Regions from separate parts of the Homo sapiens genome. Here region 2 is linked to region 1. The links are contacts of gene promoters, found by promoter capture Hi-C in human tissues and cell types (Jung and others, 2019). All regions are on one chromosome and are shown on one strand. The core of a region is centred on a gene start or on the middle of the fragment in contact, and the rest is flanking DNA. Distances in the headings are between cores, read along the strand shown. Region 1 holds the start of SLC10A7 (solute carrier family 10 member 7). Region 2 overlaps TTC29 (tetratricopeptide repeat domain 29).

The links. The method cuts DNA at HindIII sites, captures the fragments that hold promoters and counts their contacts. A contact is called where the count stands out against the background at its distance.
Region 2: a fragment that was not itself captured here is called in contact with the fragment with the promoter of SLC10A7 in region 1 in 1 of the 25 tissues and cell types used here (mesendoderm cells).

Annotation. Positions count from the first base shown.
Region 1 is chr4:146,519,782-146,525,595 of GRCh38, reverse strand. SLC10A7 (solute carrier family 10 member 7) reads left to right here and starts at 3,656. Exons shown (of 12, transcript NM_001029998.6): 1 at 3,656-3,978. The coding sequence starts at 3,879. RefSeq lists enhancers at 2,809-2,888, 3,059-3,478, 3,489-3,568, 3,789-3,858, 4,299-4,528. The HindIII fragment of the contact is 10,684 bases long and covers 1-5,814 here.
Region 2 is chr4:146,904,868-146,909,926 of GRCh38, reverse strand. TTC29 (tetratricopeptide repeat domain 29) reads left to right here. Exons shown (of 13, transcript NM_031956.4): 5 at 678-901. Among named protein-coding and RNA genes, the nearest start is that of TTC29-AS1, 27 kb to the left of the region's middle. The HindIII fragment of the contact is 5,691 bases long and covers 179-5,059 here.

The DNA of each region.
Region 1 (5,814 bases), core at 2,407-4,906:
TGCTTTCTTAAAAAAAAAAAAAAAAAAAGGACTATAATGAAGCTGAAAAATTCCTATTATCTAGTGAAAATGTAGTTATTGTAATGTCATAATGTGACACATTATTTATGCAAATCTATGATGAAAGAAATAAATCAGGCAAAACACCATAGGCATATTTCTGAAAAGAGCAACATCTCCCAAAGAGACTGAGGAAGGTCCTTCAGGAGGTATTCTGGAAGAAGGCATTGTTATCATATAAGATGACTGCTCTACATAGGTTACTGCTCCTAAAGATCTTCTACAGGGACAAGATGTGGAGGTAGAAGTCAGTGATATTGATGATCCTGACCATGTGCAGGCCTAGGCCAATATGTGTGTGTCTTAGTTTTTTTTTTAAAAAAAGTTTAGGAAAGTAAAAACAAAAATGTAAATAGAAAAAACTTATAGAATAAGAATATAAAGAAAATATTTTGGACAGCTGTATGATGTGTTTTAAGCTAAGTGCTATAACAAGAGTCAAAAAGTAAAAAAATTAAAAAGTTTATAAAGTTAAAAGTTACAGTAAGTTATTACTGAATTTAAAAACTGTTAAATTAAATGTAGCCCAAGTATAGTATTTATAAAATCTACAATAGTGTAATGTCCTAGGCCTTAACATTCATTCACCACTCACTCACTGACCCACCCAGAACAACTTCCAGTCCTACAAGCTCCATTCATACACCACTCACTCACTGACCCACCCAGAACAACTTCCAGTCCTACAAGCTCCATTCATAGTAAGTGCTCTATACAGGTATACCACGATTTTTTTTTTAAAGGAATGGAATCTTGTTATGTTACTCAGACTGGCCTCAAACTCCTGGATTCAAGTGAGTCTCCCGTCTCACCCTCTCGAAGTAGCTGGGACTAGAGGCACACACCACTACTCCTGACTCCATTAAAAAAAAAAACCTCTTATACTGTAATTTTTCTATGTTTAGATATGTTTAGATACACAAATACCACTGTGTTGCAACTGCCTACAGTATTCAGTATAGTAACATGCTGTATAGGTTTGCAGCCTAGGAACAATAGGCTATACCATATAGTCTAGGTGTGTTGTACACTACATTATTTAGGTTTGTGTAAGTACACTCTATGATGTTTCTCTAATGATGAAATCGTCTAACCATACATTTCTCAGAATGTAACCCGGTGGTTAAGCAATGCCTGACTGTATTAATTATTGTTCATCTCTTATTGTGCCTAATAATATAAACCAAAAATTATCATCATAGGAATGTATGTATAAGAAAAAATACCATAGCATATATAGATAGGGTTCAGTACAACCAGCAGTTTCAGGCATCTACCTAAGGTTCTTGGAATGTATCCTTTCAGGATAAGGGGGGACTACTGTGATTGAGTTAAGGCTCTTGAGAGATCATTTTGGATTATCTGGGTAGGCCCTAAATCCAATGACAAGTGTCTTTATAAAAGATACACAGAAAAGGAGGTGCAACGTGAAGATGGATGCAGAAACTAGAATAATGTGGCCACTAGAAAGAAATACAGAGGGGAATGTGATGTGAAAACAGTGGCAGAGATTGGAACACTCTAGCTACAAGCCAAGGAAGGCACCACCAGAAACTAGAAAAGGCAAGGAAGGACTCTCCCCTAGAGCCTTCAGCGGGAGTATGGCTCTGCCAAAATCTTGATTTTGGACTTCTGTCCTCCAGAACTGTGAGATAATAAATTTCTGTTGTTTGAAGGCATCCAAGTTCGAGTATTTGTTTCAGCATCCACAGCAAACAAATACAGGCCTTAAGAGAATATAATTCATGGTACATTATATTCTTTTCCTTTAAGTACCATTAAAAACAGAACAAAAAAATCTCTGAGTTAGATTCTGCTCTACACAGATCAAAGAGGTATTAGTAAATAATTTGTGAATAGCTGTACAGTTAAAACAGCTCAATTTCTGTAAACTTAATGTTTAATGATGTTTTAATACAAAACTATCCCTTCAATGACTGAGACGTATGACTCTTTAACCTACTAAGAAATTACTATAAGAAAATAATTATGTTGTAAACTATCTTTCATTTATCTTCACTTATCTTCTGACTGCCTGACAACTAACATCAAATTTTATATTTCATGTACCTGTCTCTTTTCAGAGTAAACTGCTTAATGTCATCTATGTCTCCCTGTTAAGTTCTTTTTATCTTGAAATTAATTTTTTTTCATGTTGCCTGATGTATAATTAGATGACACTTGGTACTGTGTAACCTACAACTGGGAGCACAACTCTTAAAGTGGCTTAGTTTCTGGAAGTCTTGCCATCAAGATAAAGCTAAATTAAATAGAGGAAATGACACGACGAGTGTCTTTCCAGCTTTGAATAAATTCAGAATTAAAGTCTGTCATCACGAAACAATCTCTTCCAAACCTTAAGTTCTATTTTTAACCATTTAAGTGGCAGATGCCAGGTTATTTCAAAATATCACATACTATTTTCTTTCTTTCTTCATTTGGATGAATGATACAGTGGAGTTCATGCTCTTGCAGGGTCTACCGGTAGGAAGTCCATTCATGAAACCATCAATGTCACTGGTTGCCACAAGACATTTCAAGGAAGAAACTGGCAGATAGAACTAGCACTCGTGGCAATGGAAGGTAGGACTCCCCAACCTCTCAGACTCAATCCCCCACCACTTCCGCGTTGGAATCCGCGACCCTCTTCCCAGAGTTTTCCTGTGGCTTGGGTAGGTCAGCCCTGGGGGCGAGCCAGAGCGGGCACCCGCGCGCCCAGGGGCTTGCCAGCGCAGACCCCACTCCGCCCGCGAGTAGCTTAGTTGGTGGGGAGACTTCAGCTGTCACTCTCGGCCCGCAAAGGCAGATCTGCCCCGATCCCTGCAGCCCTCCCCAGTCCCGGAGACAGGTGTGGGCCGCAGAGGGAAGGGGATCCGGACCAAATGCCCACCCGCAGGCGAGCGACCTGGCGAGGTCGGGCCCACCTTCCTTGGGTTGTAGCGGACGCCGGCAAGCAGGGGTCCAGCGAACGTGGGCATCTGCCCGGCGCCGGATTTTCAACCCACCGCCAGAGATAAGGCTCCCCGCCCACCAGCGAGCCACTTTCCCGCGCGGACACCTCTAACTCCGGCAGCTCAGGCTGGGAACTCGGAGATCCAGAGTGGCCTCCCCTCCCCCCCGCGCATACGTCAGCGCTAGCGTCGTGGAAGCGCCGTAATGTCCCGAAGAAGCGCGTCTCCAAACTTGCACCCCGCTGCCGCAGCTTCAACGGAGAAATCCCTTGCCCCAAGCACACGTCAGCCCTGCCCGCGGAGTCATGGCACAGCAAAAGAGAGGCTCTCCATGGAGATATGCTCCAGAAGGGTGGGTGGCTGTGCCTAAAGGTTTGTTAGAAAAGGACAGTCAGTGAGGCTTGCTGGCTGTGGCGCCTTACGACGCTCTCCCCGACCCCTCGTCATTCAGAAGGTTCCGCAGGTCTCGACAGCGGTGCGCTTGTCAGCCCCATCCGGCGGCCAGCCTCCCTTGCCGGATCGCCCACGTTGTCGGCCTGGTCCGAGTTCTTCATTTCAAAGCATCTGCACCTGCGAGCCCGCGGCCAGAGGCGCTGGGGGCGTTTGTGCGCGTGTATTCTGAGGCGCGTGGTAGTGATGGCGGCGCTCAGTGAGACTTTCCTGTCACTGGCTACTACTACTCCCAACCCTCCTCAAAGCCGCCGGAGCAACCCCCAGGTCTTTACTTTACAATCGGCAATTTGACTTGCTCTGCTGCATGTCTGGAGGGACCAAGGAAAGTGTGGAGACGCTCCAAGGATTAGGTGATCGGAGCTTGAAAAGAAAAAAAGCCAAACAAATAAACAAAACCCACCCACCCTAACAAATATGAGGCTGCTGGAGAGAATGAGGAAAGACTGGTTCATGGTCGGAATAGTGCTGGCGATCGCTGGAGCTAAACTGGAGCCGTCCATAGGGGTGAATGGGGGTAAGTGCTGCACCTCTGCCGGCTCCACCGCGGCTCCCACTTCAGAACTAATTTGTGAGTCTTGGAAAGGTGGGGCAACCCTCATTGCAAGCGCTTGCCAATTTCAGGGGGCACTGACCAGCCTTTGGCCCTTTTGCTGATTTTCTAATTTACCAACCCCAGAGGGAACTTGTAATTAGGAACGAGGCAAAGGAATTTGAGGGCAGGTAGCCTTTTCCGTAGACAAACAATGACTATCCTGAGTGTCAAGAAGTGAGGTTACAGAGAATGAAACTTACTCCTCTTGCCTTCAAAGTAGCATCCTATCCCAAGGGAATCTAGGTTGCTAAGAGTTCCGTATCTATCTTGGAGTGGACCTCATTATCGAGTCTACTTTCGAGTCCTCCCCGCCCCCACATTAAAAAAAAAAGTGGAGGAAAAACAAGAAAAGGGACACCTCCGCCCCCAACTCAGATTTTATGGCCCACATGTTGGAGAGTGATGATTTGCTGTAGTTGCTGGTGCTCCAGAAACTCCCAAGCCGACTGACACGTTGCACTCTTTGATTACAGGACACTTCATTACAGCATACTTCCGTGTGCTGCCGGGATTCAGTTGCTATACTAGCAGTCTAACAGATACAGACTGTTAGACTATGTGTAGTGTAGTGTAGTGTGTGTTTTGGCAAGGAAATGTGGATGGACTGAAAGCATACTTAGATCTCTGAATAGTGGGAGCTTTGTACAGGAGATGATGGGCACTGGTGGGAACATTAGAAATATTAGTTTTTTATGCCCCCCCCAACACCTTTAGACAATCTTGTACTACTTTTCATAAACATTAATTGAATTTATTCAATTCGCTTGTCTTTTTGACCTTGTTTGTCAGTTTCCAAGCTTATTGACAGGTTTAATACCTAACTCATGCAACCGGAGCAAATAAGGATAGAGGTGAACAGGCACAATATTTCATAGTAGGAAGCGCTCAGGAGGATATTTGAAGTTATTTTTATCTTTTTGTTAAAACATGATGGAAGTGAATGAAATGATCTCTTAGGAGAACAGCAGTGGTCCCTTCTCCCCTTAACCTCCACCCCATTACTCTGTTTAGAAGTAGCTTCCGGGAACATTTTAAAAGGAATTATTTAAACCAAAATTGTGGAGATGAAGGATTGTTTGTTTTAAAATTTTGTTCTTCTGTATTCAACTTAGAACAAAATGTGTAGAATATGTAACTGTGAGAATAAAGCAGTTATTCCTGGTGGTTTCTCCCTCTGATTGATGGTAATAGTTTCTTCTTTAACACTGCTGCTCTGTGAACTTTTGGGAAACTCTTGTGAAGATCAGGTCTGTCAAATGAAGACCCCCTATCCCCGGAGCTAAATGAATAGTAAGACTTAGAGTACCTTTGCATGATCTGCAATGCACACTTCACTAGCTATCGCTTCTCGTGTTAGATCTCTTATTTGCTCAGTTTTGAGATGAAATTACAGAGGATGTATGATCTTTAACTTTAAATCTGCAGGGGCTAAGTTTGGCAAAATATCTTTTACCTTGCATTCCTAAATATTCTGTGGGAAGAAAGGTGTTGAATGCTGAATCATTTCCGTGGGGCTTTTCTGCAGTGGCATGTATGAGATAGATTCTGCAAACTTATGTGTTCCATAGACTCTGCTTATTAATATTTTGGTACATTATTGTATCATAGAAATGCCATTTCCCATTTCCACTAGTCCTTCTGTCTTTAATGTAGGATAATTCATTCCTTTGTTTAATTATAATAGAATGTTAAGAGGGGGAGGGGAATATTTAAAGTGTTTTAAGCCAACATGCTTCTTTTACAGTTGAAGATACCAGG
Region 2 (5,059 bases), core at 1,775-4,274, 380 kb before region 1:
GTAAGCGTCACAAGGGTATGGAATCTATTTGGTCTAGAACAGCGCCTGGCACTTAGTAGGAAACTCAGCACCTATTTGTCGCTTGACTAAATGGAATATTCATTTGTCACTTTATCTTTTTGCATTTGATTATTGAAGTGAGAATATAATTATTAATCATTAACTTAATTCTAACTGAAAGTAATTAAAAAATATATAGTTAGTAATAGATTTCAATAAATATTTTCTGCATGAATGAAAGAATGATGAACTTCTGTAACATACAGTGAAACTACTAATATAGAGAGAATATTGTTTTGATATTAAATGGCAAGTTTTATTTTTGCTTGACTTGTTGAGGTTTTTTTTGGTGGGAGGCTGATATATCAAGTATTTTTTAATATTCATCAGTCAACTAGCTTATTTGTCCTTATCAAATGGAGCTCAGCTCTGGAACTGATATGTTTATAATGTAATTTCATTAAAATTACTGTGTTTAGATAGCTCCTGGCATCTTTCATTAAACAGAAGTTGTTCAATTATAAGTGTTTGAGGCAAAGATCTTTTGATAGTTTTCAGTGCTTTCACTGAGGGATAAAAGGCAACATGATTCAACCTTTAATTATTAGAGAATGAAAATACCGTGCAGACTGAAAGGATTAACATAAACCTGAGAGTGTTCTGATTCATATTTCCAGTTATAGGAACTCCTACAAGAAGAATATCTGTGTGGACATGCTGCGAGATGGTTATCATAAGTCCTTCACCGAGCTCTTCGCTCTGATGGAGCGGTGGGATGCCCTGAGGGAGGCTGCGAGAGTCAGGTCCCTCTTCTGGCTGCAGAAGCCCCTGGAGGAGCAGCCTGATAAACTGGATTACCTGTACCATTACCTGACCAGGGCTGAGGACGCTGAGAGGAAAGGTAAGTGGTGGGACTGTGGGCAGAGCACAGAAGGAGCCAGAACACCGAGCTCCTGGGGGAAGATTCCAGATTGTTTCATGTATGAATTTGAAACATTAAGACAACTTAGCACACTTCAACCCAGTCAATTAAACGTCTTTATGGAATTAAGGAAAGGGAATGTTGGATCACGAGGCTGCCCAGACACGGGGGCATTCTGGTGATGTCCTTCCGAGCCAGGGAAGACAACACATAGCACCTAATAATATCTCCAGAACTTCCCCCATGAATTAACATAGTTCCTATCATTAGGTTTAAACCTTTCTACAGTTTTTCTGTATACGTAATCTGAATATTGACTTTCATAGAGGAGATACTTTCAAAGAGTACTATAACTTGAAAATCACACTGATTTTCCTAAGTTTAGATAGTGGACTTTGAAGTTTGGGTCAAGAAGTCCTACTGATTTGAATCAGAGAATTTATCTTTGTAAATAGTAAAAAGACATGAAAATCCTGCAATTCACAATTGCAAATAAAATTGTCAATTTTATATTTTCCATGACATCATTTCTAATACATTTTTTGTATTTCAAAATTTTCCAGAAAGTTAGTATACATTCCAAGTATTAAATATTTTCATTTCTACACTAATTATACTGATATTGTTGTCATAAATATTTCTTAGTTACATATTAGGAACTGGTCATTTTAACTAGTCATCTATAATCAAATAAAAAAATGAAATTCTAGAATTTGGCATGTAAATTTGGTATTCTAAATTATTCTTTTCTCCAAATTTTTTGGGGAAAATACCACAGGATTCAAAAAGAAAAACTCAGGCCTCAACATGACAATGTCTACATGTCATTTCAGGCTTTTCTATGAGAAAATAGGGTATCAGCAACTTTTTGTTACCCAATGGTACCATGGAGAAAATTTATGGAGTCATGTAAACAACATTAGAAGAGTCTCTATATGTTGGAGCCAATACATATTTCCCATCAGGTTGTGACCTGACTTATGAATATGAGACACACAAAAATGTGAACAACAAAACAAATGAACTAGGGTGTGTGTGTGGCAGGGGTGGGATAGGAGGTGGTTATGTATATTATGAAAAGGGTTTCACTGCAGGATGGATGTGAAAAAAAATATTTTGGTGAACTTTAAAATATTATTTACAATTATTTCTCAAGAAATTAACTATTGTAAATAAAAAGTGCTATTATAAAAAACCTCCATTTTGGCTGGGCGCGGTGGCTCATGCCTGTAATTCTAGCACTTTGGGAGGCCAAGGCGGGTGGATCACCTGAGGTCAGGAGTTTGAGACCAGCCTGGCCAACATGGTGAAAACCCGTCTCTACTAAAAATACAAAAAAATTAGCCGGGCATGATGGCGGACGCCTGTAATCCCAGCTACTCAGAAGGCTGAGGCAGGGAATTGCTTGAACCCGAGAGACAAAAGTTGCAGTGAGCTGAGATTGCTCCATTGCGCTCCAGCTTGGGTGACAAGAGCAAGACTCCATCTCAAAACAAAACAAACAAAACAAAACAAAACAACCTACATTCTAGTATTTGCCCAAAATTCTACAGTGATATTTAAACTGAAAGTAGAACTAAGATAATATTTGCTCATTAGCTGTTTTATTCCATTGAATTTTATCATATTCACTGTTTTAAATTGAGGCTTTCATTGGAGATAGTGTAAATATAAGCTAAATATGTCACTTGTCATAAGGTGTCATAGATGTGAGCCAGCTTGTCATAAAGCTTTTTCAAATTTATAAGAACCTAAAATGCCAAATAGTCTATTTGAGGGTAGAAAACATTTTAATATATAATATTTCTTAAAGGAAAGTTACTATAAGTAAAAATGTTTCTCCAATCCAAAAGTTAACAAAGCCTAACTTTTTGTTTTGTTTTGAGACAAACTCTTGTTCTGTCAACCAGGCTGGAGTACAGTGATGTGATCTCAGCTCACTGCAACCTCCTTCTTCCAGGTTCAAGTGATTTTCCTGCCTCAGCCTCCCGAGTAGCTGGGACTACAGGCACAAACCACCATGCCAAGCTAATTTTTGTATTTTTAGTAGAGACGGGGTTTCACCATGTTGGCCAGGCTGGTCTCGAACTCCTAACCTCAAGTGATTCTCCTACCTTGGTCTCCCAAAGAGCTGGGATTACAGGCGTAAGCCACCGCACCTGGCCCAAAGTCCAAAGTTATAATAGCCAAAGTCTCTTCTGTAGGATTATCTCCCACAAAATGCAGTGGCTTTTGTCTGGTTGAAATATAGAAAATTAAAATTATTACAAAAGTATTACTGGAAAAACTTCAGCTGAAGGACATGTAAACATTTGTGTCACCTTTTTTCAAAAATTGTTATAATTTTTTTTCCACATTCAACACATGAACTTTATTGGAGGAAAATTGTGGTTTGAATTAGGGATGTACCAGAAAATGAGATATGCACATTCACTCTTATTAACTTGAATGAATCCTAAATCTTAAAATGTGTATGTAAGCCTAGAATATAGAAATGTGTTAATAGTATCTTAAAGTTCCATTCCATATGGTTGTGACATTAGAGGCAATTTTCCTGAGATAGCATATAACTGAGCAATCTCGTTGCTTCTCATTGGAAGAACCATCACTCTAGGGTCACAGTGAAGTTCATTTAATCAAAGCTATGGCATTAACAATAGTCATCTCAGGTCAGTTCTATCTCTTGAGACTTACAGAGCAGTAACCTAGAGTTATTTAAATTACTTTATAAAACACTTGCTGTTTTATAGCAAAGGTGTGTTTAAAGTAAGCCAATCATTTCTTTTTGGGTTATTTTCCATTTGTTAAAGTGTTTCTTTGTCCCTGATACTTTTTTTTTTTAAATATTATCCATTGTCATGAATCATTGCTGTGCCATCTGTGACATCTGATTTGAGCCTTATGCCCCATGGGGCTAGGGAAGAGATGACAAAAATGGTAATGGGTAAGAGAATCAATAGATAATTCAAACATTATTTACACTTGACTTTTAAATTTATTAAGGGTTGAGCAGCAATTTTTTTCTAATAATGTTTGTTTAAGATACACAAATTATGTTCTAAGGCAAAATTCCACAGGTGTTTACAGATTTGATGTAAAGCAAAACAAAACAATTTTCTGGCCAAATAAGCTTGAGAAATACCCGGTGAACTAACATTGAGGTTAAGCAGGTTAATTTATTGCAGGACTAATCAGAGCATTCAGCATGCTGATGTATATTGTGTGGTTTACTGAAAAAGGAAATTTGCAAAAATGTTTCCCAAATTTATTTTATTGTAGAATCTTCTTTTTAAGGAGCATAAGAAACCCACAATAAAATTGATTTTCATCTTCTGAATATACCTGCTGTCAATTCAAGGAAGTGGTCTACAAGCAAGGAGAGAAGGCTACTTGTAGCCTTTGTAAAGGGTACAGGACACATATTTGGATTGCCCAAAGATTTGAAACTTGAATATATTCTTTTATATTTAATATTCTAGAAAACAATCCTTTATTCATAGAAAAATAGCTTAGCTGACAAGTAGTCTTTAAATATGTAATCTTGGTAGCTTATCTAACTCATTCCTAAAAAAAAAAACCTTATGAAATGTTGCAAATATTTTTACATTAAGGTTTAATTACTAAAATATAAAAAAATTGTTTCGGGACTACATATATTTTTAATTATATATATATATATACTTTTTATTAAAGTGGAAAATATGAAATGTTTTACTTACTGACTTCTAAAAGCAATAACTCTCTAATCAGTAAATATAACCAAGAATATGAAATATTACAAAACAGACTTTAGTGTTGTATTCACATTATGTAGGAAGTTCATAATGGAAAGACAAAGCACAGAAGTATTCTGAGGTGGGAGTATTTGCGTCAGATAAATAGCTTAGGTCATGCGCTACTTTTCACCTGAGCTGTCACCTGGTGTGAGTGTCCTCGAAAAGCAGAATGGCTCTCCAGAATCTCCAGCAACTTCCAGGATAGGGAGACCTTTTTATTTTGTTTTCCAGTTATTAAATTTATTTTGATATAAATGTTAATTTCCATTGGAATTTTAAAGAAGTATATGTAAAGGAATAGAATCGGTTTTAGAAATTTCTTTTGAAACATTGGGGTGACTTACTTACGGTTCTGCAGAAT